Regions from separate parts of the Homo sapiens genome. Here region 2 is linked to region 1. The links are contacts of gene promoters, found by promoter capture Hi-C in blood cells and fetal thymus (Javierre and others, 2016). All regions are on one chromosome and are shown on one strand. The core of a region is centred on a gene start or on the middle of the fragment in contact, and the rest is flanking DNA. Distances in the headings are between cores, read along the strand shown. Region 1 holds the start of CEACAM16-AS1 (CEACAM16, CEACAM19 and PVR antisense RNA 1). Region 2 overlaps PVR (PVR cell adhesion molecule).

Region 1 (5,301 bases), core at 2,115-4,614:
AGTAGCTGGGATTACAGGCATGCACTACCACGCCAAGCTAATTTTTGTATTTTTAGTAGAGACGGGGTTTTGCCATGTTGGCCAGGCTGGTCTTGAACTCCTGACCTCAGGTGATCCACCTGCCTCAGCCTCCCAAAGTGCTAGGATTGCAGGTGTGAGCCATCATGCCCGGCCCTGATTCAGGTTCTAACAGGATCCCTCTGGCCATGAGGTGGAAAGAGACTGTTGGGGGCAGAATTGTAAAGCGAGGGACAAGAAGAGTCAGGGGTCTCCAAGCTTTGAGCCTGAGCCACTGCAAGGATGAAGCTGCCATTTCTGAGGCCAGAAGGCTGCAGGCAGGGCTGGGTTGGAGATTGGAATGAAGATAGGTCTTGTTTGAGGCCAATGAGGAGGGAGCCTCACCCGAGGCACACAGGCTCCAGGCGGGAAGTTGGCGACAAGTTGTGGACTGTGGTTTTCACCCACCTCATGGGGCCCCCTCATCCTCTCCCCCAACTTCCCCTCACGCCGTGGTGGAGCCAGCTTTGTTTGTTTCCCCCCCATCATCCGTTTCATGATGGGGAAGACTGGTTTTCCCCTAACCCAACAGACACCTCTTCCCTCAGCCTGTCCCTGACCCTCCCACCTCGGGAAGCCCCGAGCGGGCCTCCCAGAATGTCCCGGCAGGAAGGGGCTGCTGCTACCGTTCATCCAGCCAGATGAACCCCAAAAGGGGAAGTGGGTCACCCGTAGTCACCCGGCTCATGGTCAGCTCGGGACTTCAGGATCTCGTCTCTTCACTGCACCCACCACAGCCCTGGGAGGTTTTCCATGCACGCTTCTCATTCTCCCCACATTTCACACGAGAAAACAGGGGCTCCAAGAGAGGCCCACACTCACCTAAGGAGCTCCAAAGATAGGGGCATCTGGATTTGAACCCAGGTCCTAGCAGATGTTGTTAGCTCAGAGGAGAAGGCAGAGAGGGTGAACAGAACCCAGCCTGCCCTCCCAGATCCAGTGGGAAGGCAGACTTGTCCCCAGGTAATAATAGCCCAGCAGTGTTCACAGCCTGGGATGGAGGAGCCCAGGAGGCTGCAGGAGCTCAGAGCGCATGCCTGACCCAGCCTGGGGTCAAGGAGGGCTTCCTGGAGGAAGGGACAGCTCATCTGATACCTAGAGGATGAGTGGGAGTTACTAGGTGTAAATAGTGCAGGGAGAGGGAAGAGTATGTGCAAAAGCCTAGGGTTGAGAGGAAACCTAGGGGCTCCAGCAAGGCGCAGTGGCTCATGCCTGTATTCCCAGCACTCTGGGAGGCCGAGGCGGGCGGATCATCTGAGGTCAGGAGTTCAAGACCAGCCTGGCCAACATGGTGAAACCCTGTCTCTATTAAAATACAAAAATTAGCCAGGCGTGGTGGCGTGCACCCATAATCCTAGCTACCTGGCAGGCTGAGGCACGAGAATTGCCTGAACTTGGGAGGTAGAGATTGCAGTGAGCCAAGATCACGCCACTGCACTGGCGACGAAGTCAGATTCCATCCCTCTCTCTCAAAAAAAAAAAAAGCTGGGGGGAGCCTAGGGGCTTCTAAATCCGATCGTGTCCTGGCCCTGATTAAACTCTCCTACAGCTGCCCTGGCAAACTCTTTAGCTTGGCATTCATTCATTCATTCATTCATTCACTCATTCATTCCATAAACATTCCCTGGAGTGCATTGTCAGTGTCAGGCCCCAGGGGAACACAGCAGTGACCACGACAGCCCCACCAGACCATGACCCTGACCAGGGGGCTCACGAGGGCGGAGACATCTACTCCAAGACCTGAAGGAGGAGTAGGAGAGATGCTGGGGAAGAGGCAGGGAAGGGTGTTCCTGGCAGAGGGAACAGCCTGTGCGAAGGCCTGAAGGTAAGTTTTGCATATGACACCTTTGAGAAACTACTTATTGTTCAACTGAAGCATAGGGTTGTTCAGAAGAAGCCAGCCTTGTGGCCGGGTGTGGACTTCCTCCCAGGGCACCAGGGAGCCACTGCAGAGTTGTGAGCAAGGGACAGACAGAGGTAGGCTTGTACTTCCAAGAGACTCCCCCAGCTGCCACATGCAGGGTGAATGGAATGATGCACAGAATCCAGTTTCAGGGGTAGTTTGGTACTTGGACCCAGGTCCCAGGGAGAGAGTCCAAGGAGCCCTTCTCTGGTCTTCCAAGGAGCTGCTCTCCCCAAGCTCCGGATGGAAGGCGTGCCCATGGCAACCGCTAGGTGGTGCCCGTACACCACCAGCCAGGTCTTTTTTTGCCAAAAGTAGATCAGGCCCAGAGCTGGGCAGAACTGCCCCTGGGTCAGGAGAGCAAATCGTCTCTGTCTTTTGGTCCTGGCTCCCTGGCCAGGCATCCTGGGGCCATTTGACTCCCAGGCTCAGGAAGGAGCTGGCTGAGCTGCAGTGAGTATGTTCTTCGTCTCTTTCCTCACCTTGGAATCTCAGACGGGAGCACCCTGGCTCCCACTTCAGACAGGAAGATTCTTACCTCCCTCATCAGACTAGCAGGCTCTTTGTCTCCCCACCAGTTTGAGGGGCTCCCCATTTCTATCATTCATTTGGAAGCTCATCAGCTCTCCCAGAAGGCATGGGAGCCCTTCAACACCCCCATCAGACTAGGACTACCCATCTCCCCCATCAAATTAGAACTGCATTGTCTCACACATCAAAGTATCACTCCTGGCCAGGTGCAGTGGCTCCCGCCTGTAATCCAAGCACTTTGGGAGGCCGAGGCAGGAGGATCACCTGAGGTCAGAAATTCAAGACAAACCTGGCCAACACGGTGAAACCCGGTCTCTACTAAAAATAACAAATTAGCCAGGCGTGGTGGTGTGCGTCTGTAATCCCAGCTACTCAGGAGGCTGAGGCAGGAGAATCGCTTGAACCCAGGAGGCACAGGTTGCAGTGAGCCAAGATCACACCACTGCACTCCAGCCTGGGCGACAGAGCGAGACTCTGACTCACAAAAATAAATACATTGTCTTACACATCAGAATGTTGCTCCTTACCTCCCCTGGCAGACTGGAAATATAGACTGGACACTCGTTCTTGCTGCACAGGACTGGAGCTTCTTATCTTCTTCATTGGATTTGGACAGTCCTGTCTCCCTCATGGGATTTGGTGAGAGCTCCTTAGTTTCCTTATTTTTCCCACTGTGTTGGGCCACCTTGTCCCCACCATCAGATTGGGGAACACCTTGTCTCCCAGTCAGACCAGAGGGGCGGACTCCTCTGCCCTTGCAAAGGTTCCTAGGTCCTTCTTACATCCATAGGAGGAACCATGCCTATTTTACCAAGAGGGAAACTGAGGCACAGAGAAACAAAGCACCACTTCTCTGTCCAGCTGCAGATGCCTCCACCTCCCCCTCCGCCCGCTCCTCTGCCCCTGCCCTCCCCCGCCCCCGCCCCTGACCTGGGTAACTCCCCTGGCACCGGGAGTAGGGGAATTTTGCCCTGCTGGCCTCTGCACCAACCACCTCCCCTTATCGGCAGCGTCGCCACCAGTGGCGGCCCAGGGTTAAAGTCCGGAGAGAGCTCCGGGCGCGAAGCGGATAGGGAGGGAGGAGTGGCGCCCAACCCAGAACGGGGACTCCCCGGAGGTCGAGCCCTCACGCTGCTGGGAGGAGAGGGGATGGGCAGGGCCGTGTCCCATGGTAAGGTGTGGGTTCAATCCTTCCTTTCTAGTTCCCGGCTGTGTGGTCTTGAACCTGGAACTTCACCCCAACTGGGAGCCTCAGCTTCTCCAGCTTTAAGGAGTCAGGGGCGTGAAAATGTCCAAGCTCTGGAGTCAGACTCCAGGAGTTTGAATGCTGGCTCCTATAACCTGCTGTGTGAGATCTGGGGCCAGCGAGTGTGTCTCTCTCAGCCTCAGTTTCCCCAGCTGTGCAATGAGGATACCTAGTGGGTGGTGGTGAACGCTCCATGAGTTTACGCACAAGAAAACCTTGGGACAGTGGCTGATAGTGGCGCCAGCAAGCCAGCATGCACCCCACCCTTTCCTTCCAAGAAAATTGCCTCCTAAATCTATGATTGGTAACCTTCACCCCTCCCTCTTTGACCCACCTCCTAACCCAGGCCACCTGGTGTCTTGCTGCACAGCTGGTCTCCCTGCCCGCACCACACCCAGAGGCGTCCTTGGAAACCCAACCCTGACCCCTGGTCAGAATCTGCCATGGCTCCCCAGTGCCCCCAGGAGAAAGCCAAGTGCTGTGCCACAGCCACAGCCTGACCACTCACTGCTTGTATTTTTTTTTCTTTTTCTTTCTTTTCTTTTCTTTTTCTTTTTTTTTTTTTTTTTTTAAGACAGGGTCTTGCTCTGGCCCCAGGCTGGAATGCAGTGGTGCCATCATAGCTCACTGCAGCCTCAACCTCCTGGGCTCAAGCAATCCTCCCACCTCAGTCTCCTGAGTAGCTGAGACTACAGGCACATGCCACCACACCTGGGTAAATTTTTAAATTTTTTTTTTAGCGATAGGGTCTCACTCATTGCCCAGGCTGGTCTTAAACTCCTGGGCTCAAGCGATCCTCCCGCCTCAGCCTCCCAAAATGCTTGGACTACAGGTATGCACCACCGCGCCCAGCCTCCTTTCTGGTTTTCTAATAAAGCCTTTTGTTCACCTCCTTCAAACACTTCCCCATGCTCTTCAGGTCTCAGCTCAAACAGGCCAGGCCCGGTCCCCTGGGTCCTCTCTGTCCTCCGTCTCCTGGTTCCCTGTACCTCTCCAAAAGCCCCCACGACCAAAAGAAGTAAAGATGTAGGGCCGGGCGCGGTGGCCTACACCTGTATTTCCCAGCACTCTGGGAGGCTGAGGTAAGTGGATCACCTGAGGTCACGAGAACCGATTGAACCCCAGAGGCAGAGGTTGCAGTGAGCCGAGATTGCGCCACTGTACTCCAGCCTGGGCGACACAGAGAGACTCAACCTCAAAAAAAAAAAAAAAAAATGGTGGCTGGGCAAGGTGGCTTATGCCTGTAATCCCAGCACTCTGAGAGGCCAAGGCAGGCAGATCACTTGAGCCCAGGAGTTCGAGACCAGCCTGGGCAACATGGTGAAAACCCGTCTCTACAAAAAATACAAAACTTAGCTGGGTGTGGTGGCATGCGCCTGTAATCCCAGCTACTCAGGAGGCTGAGGCATGAGAATCGCTTGAATCCGGGAGGTGGAGGCTGCAGTGAGCCAAGATCATGCGACTGCACTCCAGCCTGGGTGACAGTGCAAGACTCTGTCTCAAAAAAAAAAAAAAGTTCCCACTCTGGTCCAGCCACCATCACTGAAGGCCCGGACCATGCAGT
Region 2 (5,165 bases), core at 1-2,500, 62 kb before region 1:
CAACATGCAAGAAGTACTGCCAATACTGCCAACCAGAGCAGCTCACTCGAGATCTTTGTGTCCAGAGTTTTTTGTTTGTCTTGAGACAGGGTCTGGCTCTGTTGGCAGACTAGAGTACAGTGGTGAGATCACAGTTCATTGCAGCCTTGACTTCTCAACGCCAAGTCATCCTCCCACCTCAGCCTCCTGAGTAGCTATGACTACAGGTATGTGCCACCACGTCTGGCTAATCTTTTTATTATTTGTAAAGTCGAGGTTTCCCTGTGTTGCCCAGGCTGGTCTTGAACTCTTGGCTCCAAGTGATACTTCTGCCTTGGCCTCCCAAAGTGCTGAATTAAGCAGCTCACCATCCACACGGCTGACCTCATACATCAAGCCAATACCGTGTGGCCCAAGACCCCCACCATAAATCACATCATTAGCATGAACCACCCAGAGTGGCCCAAGACTCCAAGATCAGCTACCAGGCAGGATATTCCAAGGGCTTAGAGATGAATGCCCAGGAGCTGAGGATAAAGGGCCCGATCTTTCTTTGGGCAAGGTTAAGCCTTTACTGCATAGCAGACCACACAGAAGGGTGTGGGCCACCAGAGAATTTTGGTAAAAATTTGGCCTCTGGCCTTGAGCTTCTAAATCTCTGTATCCGTCAGATCTCTGTGGTTACAAGAAACAGCCACTGACCCTGGTCACCAGAGGCTGCAATTCAGGCCGCAAGCAGCTGCCTGGGGGGTGTCCAAGGAGCAGAGAAAACTACTAGATGTGAACTTGAAGAAGGTTGTCAGCTGCAGCCACTTTCTGCCAGCATCTGCAGCCACTTTCTGCCAGCATCTGCAGCCAGCAAGCTGGGACTGGCAGGAAATAACCCACAAAAGAAGCAAATGCAATTTCCAACACAAGGGGGAAGGGATGCAGGGGGAGGCAGCGCTGCAGTTGCTCAGGACACGCTCCTATAGGACCAAGATGGATGCGACCCAAGACCCAGGAGGCCCAGCTGCTCAGTGCAACTGACAAGTTAAAAAGGTCTATGATCTTGAGGGCAGACAGCAGAATTCCTCTTATAAAGAAAACTGTTTGGGAAAATACGTTGAGGGAGAGAAGACCTTGGGCCAAGATGCTAAATGGGAATGCAAAGCTTGAGCTGCTCTGCAAGAGAAAATAAGCAGGACAGAGGATTTGCTCTGGACAGAGATGGAAGAGCCGGGAACAGAGAAGTGTGGGGAAGAGATAGGAACCAGCAGGATGGCAGGGGCAAAGGGCTCAAGGGTGAGGAGGCCAGTGGGACCCCACAGAGTTGGGGAGATAAAGGAACATTGGTTGCTTTGGTGGCACGTAAGCTCCTTGTCTGTCTCCAGCACCCAGAATCTCATTAAAGCTTATTTATTGTACCTCCAGCGGCTGTGTGCAATGGGGTCTTTTGTGGAAATCAAGGAGCAGACAGGTTTCATGTGTACTGTCACCACGTGGGATGGAACCAGAGGCATGGAAGCAAGACGCTAAATGAAGAGGGCCATAAGGGCTGGGATTCCCAGGCACCTTAGGAACAGCTTGTCTTTTTTTTTTTCCTCTCCAAAAAAAATGTTTAAGGGACGGTGTCTCCTGTCACCCAGGCTGGAGTGCAATGGCACGATCATAGCTCATTGCAGCCTCTAACTCCGGGGCTCAAGCAATCCTCCCACCTCAGCCTACCAAGTAGCTGTGACCACAGCTGCCCCTCACCATGCTAAGCTAATTTTTTTAATTAGATAGTACATAAACGTCCCAAAATTAGAAGATAAAAAGACATGAGGGATCCATTCTAATTTGTGTTTGGAGTGTAATGGTCCAGCTCCATTCTTCTGCACATGGATATCCAGTTTTACACAACACTGTGAATGTAATGAATGCCACTGAATCATACACTCAAAAATAGCTAAAATGGCAAATTGTCTGTTATCTCTTTTTAACCACCATTTTTGAAAATTAATTATACCAAAAAACCATTGAATAGTGCACTTTATTTATTTATTTATTTGTTTATTTATTTATTTATTTTAGAAATAAGAGTCTCACTTTGTTGCCCAGGCTGGAGTGCAGTGGCGTGATCATGGCTCATTGCAGCCTCGACCTGCTGGGCTCGGGCTATCCTTCCATCTCAGCCTCCCGAGTAGCTGGGACTATAGGTGGGCGCCACCCCACCTGGCTAAATCTCTTTTTAACTTTTGTAGAGATAGGCATCTCGCTATGTTGCCTAGGCTGGGCTGGAACTCCTGGGCTCAAGTGCTCCTCCTGCCTTGGCCTCCCAAAGCGCTAGGATTACAGATGTGAGCCACCGCGCCCACCCTGAACCTTACTTTTTTTGCTCAGTTTCTGGTAATTCAGAGAATGCCTCCTGAGTTGTTCTACACCCACCTCATATTCCATGGGAGGGCTGTACAGGGCTTTTTTAACGAGGCCTCTAAGGACAGGCATTTGTATCCTTTCCAGCCTTTCACTATTACAATGTTGTAGTGAATAACTTTACACACTGTCATTTATTTTACTTTTTTTTTTTTTTATTTTAGAGAAAGGAATCTTGCCATCTTGCCCAGGCTGGTCTCAAATTCCTGGGCCCAAACAATCCTCCCGCCTTGGCCTCCTAAAGTACTGGGATTTATAGGCATAAGCCACCGTGCCTGGCCAATGCACACTGTCATTTAGCTCATGTTAACACCTGAGTGTAGGACACACTCCTGGAGGTGGAATTGCTGGGCCAAAGAGTATGTTTCTTGTCATTGTGATAGATATTGACAAATGAACCCTCACAGAAGTTGTGCTGAGTTCTGTTCCCACCAGCGACGTAGGCGATGACCTTTTTCTGGAGGGAGGGGGCATCCTTGGAGTCCACAGAGCCAGGAATGGAGAGTGGGCCCAGAATTTTGGTATAGGTGTTGTATAAACTTATAGTAAGGTTAAGAAAACCGCAACTATCCTTATCAGAGACTTGGCGGGGGGCAGGGTATGATGGAGATCATAAGGAGGCTAAAACACTCCACACCCTCCCTCTGCATTGCTCCTGCACGGGAGTCGGGAATCTTTTCAGGTTGATACGATCTCACCTTGAGGAGCTGTGAGGTCCCAGAAGCCTCTGGGTTGCAGATTGCTTGGGGTGAAAATGTCTGTGCTACTGAAATCTAACTTTTTACAAAAAATTACGGGCTGGGCGCAGTGGCTCACGCCTGTAATCCCAGCACTTTGGGAGGCTGCAGCGGGTGGATCACTTGAGGTAAGGAGTTCAAGACCAGACCATAGTGAAACCGTGTCTCTACAAAAAAAATTAGCCAGGTGTGGTGGTGCATGCTTGTAATCCCAGCTACTCAGAAGGCTGAGGTGGGAGAATCCCTTGAACCCGGGAAGTGGAGGCTGGAGTAAACCATGATCGAGTTACTGCACTCCAGCCTGGGTGACAAGAGTGAGACTCTGTCTCCAAAAAAAAAAAAAAAAAAAAAAAAACTGGATTGCCTGGCTCTACTCCGGGCACAGCATGCAGGCCCAGTTCTGCTGCTCTGCTGTTTGTTCTGCTTTCCTCCACATATTGGCATCACCCTCTGGTGCCAAGATGGCTGCTGCATTCCAGGCATCACATCCAGACTCAGACCCAGAGAAGCTGCCCATCCCTACCTGGGTGAGCCTTTGTAGGAACGAGAAACCGCATCCAGCAGCAGAAACCTCACCCAGCAGCGTCTTTTCCGGTCTCATTCACCAGCGCCGCCCACCGCTCAACCAATCCCTGGCCAAAAGAATGGGACCGCCTGGAAGGCTGGACCAAACAGGACCTGCCCTCTGGGGCTGGGGAGAGGCCCAGATGAAGGCTGCAGGACAGGATGGACTCCTAGACCTCTGTTACCAGCAGTGACTACCTCTGTCTGGGTGGTTGGAACATGTTTGAATTTTATTCTAAGTACTGTCTACAAGTTCTGCAATAAACCTTGACTCTTCTTTTAATAATGCAAAAGGAATCGAAGTGATTGTTTGAAAGGGAGAGGAAGAAAGAGAGAGGGAGGGAGGGAAGAATGGAGGGAGGCAGGGAAGGAGACAGAGAGAGTAGAATCCAGCCACCGGAAAATCCAGAATAGCTGGCTTTGCTTAATCCATGCCTGGAAATAACTGCTGGGTTTGCAACAACTTCTCTCCCGGAGACAGACCAAGGAAACTACAAAACTGCAGGAAGGATTGAAGGGCCGGGCACAGTGGCTCACGCCTGTAATCCCAACACTTTGGGAGGCCGAGGTGGATTGGATCACCTGAGATCAGGAGTTCGAGACCAGCCTGGCCAACATGGTGAAACCTCGTCTCTGCTAGAAATACAAAAATAAGCCGGGCGTGGTGGCGTGCGCCTATAGTCCCAGCTACTCGGGAGGCTGAGGCAAGAGAATCGCTTGAACCTGGGAGGTGGAGGTTGCAGTGAGCTGAGATCGTGCCACTGCACTCCAGCTTGGGCGACAGAGTGAGAATCTGTCAGGTGGATTCTGAGGGTACTCTGACCCCACGAACCCAGCATGAAATCTTCCAGGCATTAAGGAACATTGAGGATGTGGAGGATTGGAAATCCCTCCAGGGAAAATACACTTCTCTTGAGCAGGGTCACGAGGGGTGGGGGCAATGTGGGAGGTGGGGCAAATCCAAAGACAAGGTCAACAGCAATAATAATAATAACAATGACAGGCATTTGTTGCTTGTTGGCTGGGCCTCTTGCATACAGTTCTCCCAACATCCCTGTGAGGTGGTGATGCTTATCCCCATTCTCCAGGGGAGGAGGCTGAGGCCCAGAGAGGTGAAGTCGTGTGCCACAAAATACCCCAGCCATATGGTGGTAGAACCAAGTTTTCAGCCAGACTCACCAGCTCACAGCAGAGCTGCCCTGGACTCTACAGCCATTCAGTGTATAGCTGGGCCACTCCATCATTCAAGGCAGTTCAACGTCAAGATTCCTGATTTGCCTCAACCTGGGGCCTCTAGAAGATACCATCACCCCCAACAAGCTGAAGACGTGTGTCCGGAACACTCAGACACACACAAAGTGCTATGGATACACCACACCCCGACCTAGCTGTCTCTTCCTGATGGACCTCACTGGGTAGAAATGCCTGGCACCGCCTGCCTCAGATCCCTAGGTCAGCTCTCACTCCCCAATAGAAGTTTCTGAGATG

Evidence for each region. Contacts are between HindIII fragments. The CHiCAGO score rates a contact against its expected background, and 5 or more counts as called.
Region 2: a fragment that was not itself captured here is called in contact with the fragment with the promoter of CEACAM16-AS1 in region 1 in 1 of 17 cell types (M0 macrophages); the score reaches 5.9 in M0 macrophages.

The regions. Positions count from the first base shown.
Region 1 is chr19:44,721,819-44,727,119 of GRCh38, forward strand. CEACAM16-AS1 (CEACAM16, CEACAM19 and PVR antisense RNA 1) reads right to left here and starts at 3,365. Exons shown (of 2, transcript NR_186815.1): 1 at 3,019-3,365. RefSeq lists enhancers at 484-633, 764-873, 944-1,003. The HindIII fragment of the contact is 7,565 bases long and covers 275-5,301 here.
Region 2 is chr19:44,662,193-44,667,357 of GRCh38, forward strand. It overlaps PVR (PVR cell adhesion molecule), which reads left to right. Exons shown (of 8, transcript NM_006505.5): 8 at 1-3,970. It also overlaps a transcript of CEACAM19 not described here. Among named protein-coding and RNA genes, the nearest start is that of CEACAM19, 6.7 kb to the right of the region's middle. The HindIII fragment of the contact is 240 bases long and covers 1,131-1,370 here.